3 separate regions of the Homo sapiens genome follow, and regions 1 and 2 are each linked to region 3. Evidence: promoter capture Hi-C in 16 types of primary human blood cells and fetal thymus (Javierre and others, 2016). All regions are on one chromosome and are shown on one strand. The core of a region is centred on a gene start or on the middle of the fragment in contact, and the rest is flanking DNA. Distances in the headings are between cores, read along the strand shown.

The links. Contacts are between HindIII fragments. The CHiCAGO score rates a contact against its expected background, and 5 or more counts as called.
Region 1: a contact is called between a fragment that was not itself captured here and the fragment with the promoter of TBC1D2B in region 3, in 4 of 17 cell types (total CD8 T cells, activated CD4 T cells, fetal thymus and 1 more). The highest score is 5.7, in total CD8 T cells.
Region 2: a contact is called between a fragment that was not itself captured here and the fragment with the promoter of TBC1D2B in region 3, in 2 of 17 cell types (total CD8 T cells and non-activated CD4 T cells). The highest score is 6.4, in total CD8 T cells.

The regions. Positions count from the first base shown.
Region 1 is chr15:78,248,592-78,252,374 of GRCh38, forward strand. No RefSeq gene overlaps it. Among named protein-coding and RNA genes, the nearest start is that of DNAJA4-DT, 14 kb to the right of the region's middle. The HindIII fragment of the contact is 4,032 bases long and covers 1-3,366 here.
Region 2 is chr15:78,268,141-78,272,099 of GRCh38, forward strand. DNAJA4 (DnaJ heat shock protein family (Hsp40) member A4) reads left to right here. Exons shown (of 7, transcript NM_001130182.2): 2 at 2,357-2,537. Among named protein-coding and RNA genes, the nearest start is that of DNAJA4, 5.6 kb to the left of the region's middle. The HindIII fragment of the contact is 4,210 bases long and covers 1-3,814 here.
Region 3 is chr15:78,075,378-78,079,479 of GRCh38, forward strand. It overlaps TBC1D2B (TBC1 domain family member 2B), which reads right to left and starts at 2,334. Exons shown (of 13, transcript NM_144572.2): 1 at 1,916-2,334. The coding sequence starts at 2,275. RefSeq lists silencers at 1,810-2,009, 2,210-2,419, 2,570-2,619. The HindIII fragment of the contact is 13,244 bases long and covers 1-4,102 here.

The sequences.
Region 1 (3,783 bases), core at 101-2,600, 170 kb after region 3:
GCAATGAGAATGAATGAGCCATCATGAAACCCAGCAACATTGATAATTCTCACCAACTTGATATTGAGCAAATGAAGCCAGATACAAAAGATCTATTACATGGCTCTGTGTACTTAATGTTCACAAAGAGGCAAAATGAATCTGCATGCTGGAAGTCAGGATAGGGTTCCCCTGGGGCAACCTGGAGGGCATAGTGATTGGGAGATGGCACAGGGGCTTCTGGAGTGCTGGCAATGTTTTCTTTCTGATTCAGGGCGGGGGTTAAATAGGCGTGTCTGCTTTGTAACAATTTATTGTACTACACACTTATGGATTGTGCATTTTCTTTGTGTACCTTATATTATGGTAAGTTTATTTTTTAAATTATTAATGAATGTACTACAGTGCTGGGGGTTATTCTGGTGGCTGTGTGATGTAGGAGGCATTGGCTTAGAGTTAGAAGGCCCAGGTTCCAGCCTTAACGTGCCTAGATTATGATGCTGTGCACACTGGGCAAGTTGTGGCCCCTTTTTGGGTCTCAGTTTCCTCTATCCATGAATTGGGAGGGTGTATATGTGGGTTATATGATTTTTGCAGAAATTCAGCAGAATGCTGGAACTGTAGCTAACCTGAGTCCTTATTTTAAAGAGAGAGAGAGAGAGAGAGAAAGAGAGAGAGAGAGAGAGAGCCCAAGACTTTGTTGGAACTGGAGATGTTTTCCTGCTTCCTTGTTACAGTGGTCATGCGATGATTTGGCTCCATTACTAACGGCCCAATTATTTGACCTTGGCCTCAGAGACAGGTGTGTGGTGGACTGGAAAGAACATGGTGGGTTTTGGCAGGGTCCCCACTTTAGCTGTTCCTGAACTTGGGCAAATTACTGCACCTCCCGCACTCTTCCTTCTGTTACTAGTAAAGTGCAGGCGCCCATGCCCACCCTACTGGACGGATGGGAAGATGAAGTGAAAAATGCCCCCAGCTGTTGGAAGCTGGGAGCCCTGGGAAAGCAGACCCCACCTTTACAGATCACAGGGACCTTATCCTGAGAGCCTCACCTCACCAAGGGGGGCCTCAGGCCTGCCCCTGCCCATGAGGCCCAGAGAGTGGGGGTTGGGGAGGGATCGCAGGGTGAGGCGGCTGCTCTATGGCCCTCTGGCGAGGGGCCTGGGCTAATGCCTTGGGGGTCTGTCATCCCTTCCATGTGGTTTCCCACTGCCTTGTGTGAACAGCAGATGCCAGGAGAGCCTTGATAAGCTGAATGGAGGTCCAGCCTTTCATACTGCGCACAGCTCAGTATGAGAGGACATGAGAAATGGGTAAGGATCTTGACGTGTGAGAAACAGCTGGAGAAACTGCTGGAGTTGAAGCCAAGTCGCTCAGAGAAGACCCCAAGAGCCATGGGCCACTGCTTTTGCAAATCCAATGGACTCTCCGGATTCTCTGGCCTTTTGTGTGGAGGCTAGTGTTTCTCTGTCTCTGATTCGTTCTCAGAGAATCCAAATCTGCTTATTTTAAATGGTTTTCTTTTCTAACTACATAAGGCACATATGTTCCCGTAAAAAAACTGAAATGCATAGAAAAGCAAAATAAGAAAACAAGGCTGGGTGTGGTGGCTCATGCCTGTAATCCCAGCAGTTTTCGAGGTCGAGGTGGGTGGATCACCTGAGGTCAGGAGTTCGAGACCAGCCTGGCCAACATGGTGAAACCCCACTTCTACTAAAAATACAAAAATTAGCCAGGTGTGGTGGCGTGTGCCTGTAATCCCAGCTACTTGGGAGGCTGAGGCAGGAGAATCACTTGAACTGGGGAAACAGAGGTTGCAGTGAGCCGAGATTGTGCCATTGCACTCCAGACAGGGCGACAGAGCGAGACCCCGTCTCATTAAAAAAAAAAAAAAAAAGAAAAGAAAAAGAAAGTAAGACTCAGCCAGATGCAATGGTTCATGCTTGTAATCTCAATACTTTGGGAGGCCGAGGTGGGAGGATAGTATGAATCCAGGAGTTCGAGACCAGCCTGGGCAACATGGCAAGATGCTGTCTCTACAAAAAAATTTTTTTTAAAATTAGCTGGGTAGGGTGAAGCAAGACTTCAGTCCCAGCTACTAGGGAAGCTGAGGCGAGAGGATCACTTGAGTTTAGGAGGTTGAGGCTGCAGTGAGCCATGACTGGACCACTGCACTCCAGCCTGGGTGACAGACCAAGACCTGTTTCAAAAGAAAAGAAGACTCACTCATCATTTCATCATCTGGAGATTGCTATTGTTAACATTTTTGTGTATGTACTTCAGATTTATATATGTGATCACCAGGTATATTTGATCAGCCAGGATGTTTGGTTGCAGGCAACAGAAACTGGCTCTGGCTAGCTACATTAGTTAAGGCACAGTTGGCTGCTGTACTAGGAAAATCCCCAAATAACAGTTGCTTTATACAACACAAATGTATTTCTTGCCCACATAAAGCCCGACACAGTGGTTCCTGCTGGATAGAGGGGAGTGGAGGCAGCTCTGGATCACAGTCACTCAGTACAGGACCCAGGCCAAGGGTGGCCCCACCCATTCAATGCCTGGCTTCCTAGGTGACCAGCCAACATGTAGCTAGCAGGCGGGCGAAGAGAGCATGCAGAGGATTCTGCGGACCTGAAGGGGTGTCCATACTGTTCCTTCTCTTTCCGTTGGCCAGAATTCAGTCACATAGCCATACCTAACAAAAGGCTGTTGGAGGACTCGCAGAATTGACAGGAGGCTGGGGCACCAGGCTTGAGATTGAGCAGTTTCCAGGGAGCTCCAGGGAGTCAGGAAGCAGGAAGCAATACACATGGCGACCACCTCGTCAGCCAGGCAGAGCCCACCTGTCACCCCCAGCCCCATCACAGCTGTCAAGAATCGCCTCCAATTCCTCTTGGCTCCTCCAATTCCTCTTGATGTCACTCTCTCAGGATCCAGTGTCCTAGAAGAACGCATCTATCTTGTTAGGAATCCCCAGATCATGCCCTCATCCCTGGCCGCACCAGGGCCAGGAGAGGCCGGATCTTGTCCCTGAACCTTGTCATGGGAGGCAGGCATTTCCTATGGCTGGGCTCACCCCTCTCCCTCCCCAGGAGAGATAATTTCTTTTTTCTTCCGGTTTTATTGCAGTAGAATTGACCAAAAAATGTATACATATTTAAGGTGTACAATGTGATAATGTGATATATGTATACATTGTAAAGTGATTACCACAATCAAGCTAATGAACACATCCATCCGCTCATATAGTTACTTTTTGTGTGTGTGGTGAGGACACTTAAGATCTACTCTTAGAGAATTCCAAGTATGCAACACGCTATTATTAACTATAGTCACCATTCTGTTCATTAGATCCCCAAAACTTATTCCTCTTACAACTGAAGCTTTGTACCCTTTGACCAACATCTCCCCTTTCCTGTCCTCCACCCCTCACCCCTGGCAACCACCATTCTACTCTCTGCTATGAGTTTGATTTTTCAAGATTCCACATATAAGTGAGTTAAAGCAGTGTTTGTCAATACTGACAAATAGACAATTTTCTGAGGGCCTGTTGAGAAAGAGGATTGGTGCTGGACAGTCAAAAATAACAATGTTTTCTATTATCTCACTATACTGTGTTATTGGGTCTGGGATCCTGCCCATTCTGCCAGTGCCCCCACCCACCCACGCACCTGCTGAGTGGCCATAGCTGTCCTGGGTTTCTACAGCCACAGAGAGAAGTCAGAGCACCTGGGAAATGGAATTGCCCAGAAGCCTCATGGAAAGGAGCCATGTAGAGTCCAGGGTGGCTCAAAGCTG
Region 2 (3,959 bases), core at 460-2,959, 190 kb after region 3:
GTGAGTATCCAGGGTATTTGGTGAGTGTTTCCGGTGGACGTTCCCATGAAGTTATTTACCTAGTCCTGACCTGCAGATAGACGCAGAAACTGTCTAGGGGCAGCCTGGCCTAGTTGCTTTCTGATCTGTACCAGGCACCCAATCCTTACACTCTACCTCATGTTTTCTGCTGAGGAAAGGGATAGTAGTGAATGGTACTTACTTCTTCGCAGAAATGGTATGAGAATTAACATATCAAAAGATCTAGCTGCCTTATATATGATGCTGATGTCTTTTTAAGACTTTTCTAAATTGTAGTTTTTTAGCTATTTATTAGCTATTATTATTGGTTACTTATTAGATTTCAATCAGGGATCTGTAGAACAAGGGAATTAATGCCTCAAATTCCCTTGTTCTCTCTCTCAAATTCCTTATTTCATGGCACTTTTTTTCCCTGAATATTTTTTGGAGCCAGCTGCATTATAGGATCTGTTTATCTATATATCCATATTTGTCTCTCCGACTAAACTGTAGCCTCTGGAGGGCCAAGATCCTACCTCATTTATTTATTTCTGAGTTCCCAGAATCGAGCCATTCATCTAACAGGTATTTACCAAGTGCCTTCTACATGCCAGGCATGGTTCCAGGCTCAGTTAGACAGCAGTGGACAAAACCCCCCATCTTCATGGAGCTTATGTTGCAGTGGGGGCTACAGCATAAGCAGTAGATGATGCAGCTTGTTAGAAGGTGGTTCATGATATGGAGAAATATGCAGCAGTTGTGGGGGCTGGGAGGGTCTGAGGTGGGTTTGCAGTGTTAAAGCTGGATCACCAGGAGGCATCCCTGAGAAGGTGGTCTGTGAGCTAAGGCTGGAAAGAGATGAGTCGGGAGGCCGCACCAGGCTGAGGTGCCTCTGAGGCCCAGACTGCAGAGTTGAGGAACAGCAGGGAGCCTGCTGAAACTGGCATAGAATTGGGGTGGGGACACACAGGAGGAGAGGAAAGTACAGGTGCCAAGTTGGGCTTATAGATGAAAGTTAGGACTGGCTTTTACTCCCAGTGACGTGGGCCACCTTGTAGAGGTTTGAGCAGAGGATCGACCCAATTAGTGGGCTCGAGTGGAGAACACACTGAAAGCTGGGGTGAGGAGGGCACATGGAAGACCACGGAGGAGGCCACTGCAGTGGTCCAGGCCTGAGATGGTGCCTTCAGCCAGAGTGGATGTGGTGTGGTAAGAAGGAACAGATCTTGCATGTTTTCGCATTCTGATTTTATTTTAAAAATGTCCATATACCTGCAGAAAACATGAGTGATACAATGAACACCTATGTATTCTTCACCTAGCTTTACCAGTTATAAATAAGTTGTCACATTTGTTTTATCTATTATTATTATTACTGTTGGCTAAAGATTTTGGGAGGAAGCTACCTATAGCATAACCTTTCAGCCCTAAGTGCTGCGTGTTTCTCTTGGGCACAAGGACATCCTTGTACATAACCATAGTAAAGTTATCAAATTCAAGAAGTTTAACATTGGGAACAAAGATTCACATTTCTCCCATTGTTCCAATAATGTCCTTTGTAGCCATTTTTTTTTTTCTCCCCTGTGCAGGATCTGATCCAGGATCACACATTGTATTCGTTTTTTTCTATCTTTTAATTTTAGAGTATCTCTCAATTTGGGTTTTCTGATTCTTTTCGTACAATTGGGTTCCAGTGGTAACTTTTTGGCAGGAATGCTACACATGGGATATTGTGTCTGTCTTAGGGTACTGGAGATGCAAATGTGAAGGTAGCATCAGTGGGATTTGTTGACAGGTGAGATTGGCATTGCCAATAACTGTGATATGGGGAAGACTATGGGTGGGGCGGGGCTTTTGGGGGAGGATCAGGAGTATAGGTTTGTATCCAATGTCTGGCACGTGGTTAGATGCTCACAGATGCCTGTAGTTGAATTTCATTCTAGTAAACTAGTGAAATGATTCCCATGAGGAGGTGAGCCAGTGGTAATGCCCAGAGTCCTGGCTCTATCTGGTTAGAGGTTCACCCCTGGCACTGTCTCATGGTATCCTAGCTGGTCTCGACTTCCTGTCTGGTGCAGCCGGATTAGTGAGAAACTTTCCCTCTCTACTGGCTTCTCTCCCTTATTCTTATCGTGTCCCTACCACCAGTCCCTTAATATGTTTGCCCTGTGTTTCCCACTTTACCAAAGGAGTAGGTAGACAGGCAAGTCAGATTCCAGGTAGAGGATGTATAGACTGGCTAGTTCAAGGGTTTGGGGGCAGAATACCTCTATTACTTTGTATGTTTATATGGCAGGTTTGCTTAACAAAACAACTGAAACTTCTCTAAAAATCTCTCTCTCTCTCTCTTTTAAAGTTTAAACTCATATCCCAGGCATATGAAGTGCTTTCAGATCCAAAGAAAAGGGATGTTTATGACCAAGGCGGAGAGCAGGCAATTAAAGAAGGAGGCTCAGGCAGCCCCAGCTTCTCTTCACCCATGGACATCTTTGACATGTTCTTTGGTGGTGGTGGACGGATGGCTAGAGAGAGAAGAGGTAAATGCTTTTAAAGAAACATAAATAAGTTGTATGGTTTCCACAATTATACGTGTTGTTGGAATCAGGATAGATCATGCTTTAAAAGGATATGATTGGGCCAGGCGCGGTGGTTCATGTCTGTAATTTCAGCACTTTGGGAGGCCAAGGTGGGAGAATTGTTTTAGGCCAGGATTTCAAGACCAACCGGGGCAACATAGTGATACTCCCCATCTCAAAAAAAATAAAAATAAAAAACTTAGCCAGGCATGGTGACTCATGCCTGTAGTCTCCGCTACTTCTTGAGATGCTGAGGCTGGAGGAAAACTTGAGCCCAGGAAGTCGAGGCTGCAGTGAGCTCTCCAGCCTGCACGGCAGGGTGAGACCCTGTCTCAAACAAACAAACAAACAAACAAAAAACCCCACCAGGTACAATTGCCATGTTTTGAGATCATTAACTTTAAAGAGTTTATCACTTGTCTAGTGCTCAGGCTACCTGGAAACTCTTGGTAAATTTAGTAATTATCTGACACCCTCCAATACCATATGAAGTAGCGAATGGAGTGGTGGATAGAAAAGAGGAAGGTGAAGTTCATCGTGCCTTCTTTTCCTCTGTTGTTGGGGTCAGGCACCAGAGTGTGCTGAGGGATGTAGATGACGCCGCCTGTGGTTGTCAGTGATCCTTTACCGAGAGTGTTCCTCTCTCCTCTTGCCCACCCTCCCTTTGTGGCCCTCCATGTTCCCTGACCTGGGCGTGGGCTGCAGGCTCTCTAATTCTAGGTGGGTACTCTTGCCATGTTCAGTATGGCCTCATTTCCCAGCCTGCTCAGGGGATTTTCTAGGCAACAAAATTCATCTCTTTATGTTTTGAAATCTTTATAAATGACCTGCCTTTCTTTTCAGAATGCATTATGAGTAGTAGCAACTTCATCCCCAGGAGGTGAATGAGGAACTTCTTAGCCCTTAGCTCAATGGCCCCAGGCCACTGTTTTGACTTTCTCGGGATTTGTTCTTCCTAATTTTTCTGCATCTCACCTCTGCCAGGCTACGGGCTGTCACCTCTGTTGTTAGTAGTTGCTAATAGACTAGTTCCCATTCCCCCTGTTTAGTTTACTGTTGTCAGGCTGCTTTGGATCTTGAAACCAGAAAGATAACCAAGCGTATTACAATTCTGGATAAAGTCAGAAGAAATGAGCTCTGCCTTGGGGTTTAAGAAGTGTGGCTTTGGTCAGTGAGAGGCCCCTAGATAAATGAAGCTGCACTTGTTATCACATTGTAATTGACTTTGAGCTTGAAAAAGCTTGGGTGTCAATTCTGTGAACATAGAGTGCTGAAAATCACAAAGTGTTTATTAGGGAAAAATCCTTCCTCTGTCCTTTGAGCATATCGCCTGCTCCTATAATTGATGGTGTGGACATGATAAAACCTTGGGTACTTTGGGAG
Region 3 (4,102 bases), core at 1,084-3,583:
TTAATAGACATGGGGTGTCACCGTGTTAGCCAGGATGGTCTCGAGCTCCTGACCTCGTGATCCACCCGTCTCGGCCTCCCAAAGTGCTGGGATTACAGGAGATTCAGATTATTTTAATGAAAAAAACTGATAGAGTTCTACAGTCATCTGGGAAAAATGTGAAACACGATGCTCTATTTTCTTTAACAAACATCCCACAGGAAATTCGTCCGACACAGGGACAGCCCGTATGTACACTGAGGAAGAGCCTCTGCCTTTGGCAAAGGTCTCCCACTAGGGTCATTACCAAGTTTATACAGGCACTCTCTAAGTAAGCCTGTGTAGGACTGCAACCCGAGTTGGTTTTCTTTGGGGAAACAGGCTGTCTGCACCCACTTACAGACAGGACAGGGGAGCCCAAGAGAACATGGGAATCAGATCCTGCTTGAACTGGCAAAAGCTGAGTCAGCAAAGCTCTAAGAACATCTCCAGGGAGCAGCTCCAGCTGTTAGCAGCTCTGGGGGTCTGAGGAACAGTCCTCAGCTCACAAGGCCAGGAGTTTGCCTAGTCTGCTCTCCGTGTGGCCAGCTTTGAGAGCACTTTCATACATCCCAGCCCAACCCTGTTGCTCTGGAGAAAGCCCAACCTGGAATACGGAAGAGGAGTGAGAGTGAGGGTGGAGACTCACAGAAACCAGGCAGGGAGCAAAGCCTGGAAAAAGGATACCCAGCTCCAGGCCTGGGCCCAGATCCCTCCAGATGCTCAAAGCAGGTGGGCCCCTAGGAGGTGACAGTCTAGTCCCCCAGAACTCCCAAGGACAGGGGAGGCCTTTCAGCACCAGGACTCCTGACTCTACTCTCCTGCTTCTACACTGTATCTCTCATTTTGTCTGTCCACTGGAGGATTAAGGGAGCCTCAAAGGAGCAAGGCATAACTGGCTGAAAAGACCCCCTCCCACCCATCCTGGACAAAGCAAGGAGGAAGAACACAGGATCTGCCACCTACTGGCTGTGTGACCTTAGCTGGAGCATCCCCGTCCACTCTGGAGGAAAATGTAGTGGACTGTCTCTAAGGGCCCTGCCATCTGACTCTTTCTGTCTACAGTGCTAAATGCACTCTGGCTCACGCCTGGCATCCCAGCACTTTGGGAAGCTGGATGGGGAGGATGGTTTCGGCCCAGGAGTTCGAGACTAGCCTGGGCAACATAGTGAGACCCCCGTTTCTTTAAAAAAAAAAAAAAATTTAATTAGCCAGGCGTGGTGGCCCGCACCTGTGGTCCCAGCTACTTGGGAGGCTGAGGTGGGAGGATCTCTTGAGCCCAGGCATGGAGGCTGCAGTGAGCCGAGATCGCACCCCTGCACTCCAGCCTGGACAACAGAACAAGATCCTGTCTCAAAAAGAATAAATAAACAAATAAATAAAAGCACTGACATTTACTGAGCAGTTTAAAGTATAATTCATTTAATCCCAACACCCCATGAGGTAGATACTACTGTTATCCCATTTTACAGAGGAGGCCGCTGCAGCCCAGAGCGGTTCACTGAGGTACCAAGGCCATAGGCAAAGTTCTAAAGGAGGCCCCAGGGGTAGAAGCCTACGCTCACGGATGCCTGGGAAGGCTGCACAGGACATCCACGGGATGGTGGGGGTCGGGAGACACCAGAGACTGGCCCGAGGTTAGGCGCAGAGGGAGATAATGGGTCAAGGTGTCTGAGAAAGGAGACGGGGCTTGGTAGCCCCAGCGAGACTGGCCTAAGCCCAGATAGTGGGGAGGAGATAGGAACGAGGGCGGGATGTGGAGAAGCAGGGAAAGGCAGGCCGACGTGGGCAGGGGCGAGGAGGCCTTGGAGGAAGGAGGGTGGATGGCGCAAGCCAGTGGCGGAGGCAGGGGACGCCGGCGGAAGCGCGCGGGCGGCTTTGGGGCGAGCGGTCCCACCTTGAGCACCGTGACGGCTCCCGCGCTGTGCACCTGGAAGTGCGCGGGCGGCTCCGTGCCCGGCTCCGCCGCCTCGTCGGGGCCCTGGTAGCTGAAGCAGGCGTCCGCGATGTCCAAGTGGCCGAGGGGCAGCGCGTCCTGCGGACTCTTGAAATAGTAAAGGTAGCAGCGGCGCGCGTCGAACACGAACCAGCGGCTGCGGTAGCCACGCAGGGGGCCCTTGCCCGACAGCTTCTGCAGATAGCCACACAGCCGCGCTGGCTCCCGCGCCGGACCCGCCCCGGGCTCCGCGGCCGCCCCCTGCGCCGCGCCCTCGCCGCCGCCGCCGCCCTCCTCCGCCCGGGCTCCGGCCCCCGGCATCGCTACCGCGCGCCAACCGTAGGCGCCCGCGCCCTGCGCCTCCGCGCCGCGGCCGCTGCGCCCCCTACCCCCTCCGCACCGCCCCTTCGCTCCGCACGGCCCGCGGGCGCGCAAAGCACCCTGGGACTTGTAGTCTCGCCCCCGCCCGCCCGCCGGCCGTTGCCCCCTCAGCCCCCGGAGGCAGGGTCCTGCGACCAGCACCCCGCGGGTCAGTTGCCTTCGTGCCACCTGGGCTCCAAGTCCTCGCCCTGCCGGATGAAGCAATGGTCTATTTCTTTATGGCAGTGTAGGTACATGGGAGTGTGCATCTCTCAAAACCCAGCGGAGTGTCCGCTTAAAACTGCATTTCACACTGTGTATCTTATTCTAAAAACTTGATATTTAAATCTCCCTCCTGCCAGAGTCTCAAGCTAATATTGTAAAAATGAGACAGCCTATTGCCTGGTGCTGAGTGGGTGCTCAGTAAATATTTGCAGAATTCATGAAAGCCAAAGCGTTTCCTGCCTCTCCAGACCTCAGTTCATTTATTGAATTCAACATATATTTATTGAGCGCCTTCTGAATGCCGGGTACGGTTCTGTATGCCAGGCCCTGGCGGATACAGCAGTGAACAAACCAATCATTCTCCTGCCCTCGTGGAGGTTATATTCTAGTAAGGCAGGGAGGTGACACACAAGAAAGCAGATAAAAGTAATGTGTGCTATGTTGTATAAATGCCGTGATGACATGTAAATGATTACCGCTTAAAATAGCACCTAGTATTTATCAGTGCTTTATAGACTAACTTATTTGAACACTCACAACCTGAGAAGGCAAATCTATTGCTTTGTAATAAAGCAAAGAGAAAGAATGAATAAGACCAAGTATTTGCTAGCACAACAGGGTGACTACAGTCAAAAATAATATAATTGTACGTTTAAAAATAACCAAAAGAGTATAATACAGACGCGGTGGTTCACGCCTGTAATCCCAGCAGTTTGGGAGGCCGAGGTGGGTGGATCACCTGAGGTCGGGAGTTCGAGACCAGCCTGACCAACATGAAGAAACCCTGTCTCTACTAAAAATACAAAATTAGCTGGGCGTGGTGGTGCATGCCTGTAATCCCAGCTACTCGGGAGGCTGAAGCAAGAGAATCTCTTGAACCCCGGAGGTGGAGGTTGCAGTGAGCCGAGGTTGCGCCATTGCACTCCAGCCTGGGCAACAAGAGCAAAACTCTGTCTAAAAAGAAAAAAAAAAGTATAATAGGATTGTTTGTAACACAAAGGATAAATGCTTGAGGTGATGGATACCTTACTTACCCTGATTTGATTATTATGCATTGCATGCCTGTATTAAAATATCTCATGTAACCCATAAATATATACACCTACTATGTTCCCACAAGAATAAAAAATAAGTAAAAAGCAAAGTGAGAGGATGAAGTGATGGGGGGCAGATAGCAGGCTGCTGCCCCAGGACAGGCAAGGAGGCTGGTCTGATCCTGTGACATGGAGCACAAACCCAGATGATGGGAGGGACAGGGGCAACCAGAAATGTGGGTGAAGCATTCCAGGGAGAGGGAATAGTGAGTACAAGAGCTCACTTTATTCAAAGGAAAAAGGAAGTGTATAGCTACATAGCTACATTTGTGAAAGCCCAAACCAAATATCTCACCCTCATAGATTTGCATGTTTTATACAGACACACTGAAAGACCCAGGTGGAAAACTGACCTTTCTGAGCTGGACAGGGACACAAATTAGACTGCCTGTTTGGAGCCACCCAGGTAGGAAGGGCAGGTTCTGGGTCCTCACCCAGCCTGCCGACTCTCTGCAGGCCCTAAAGTGGC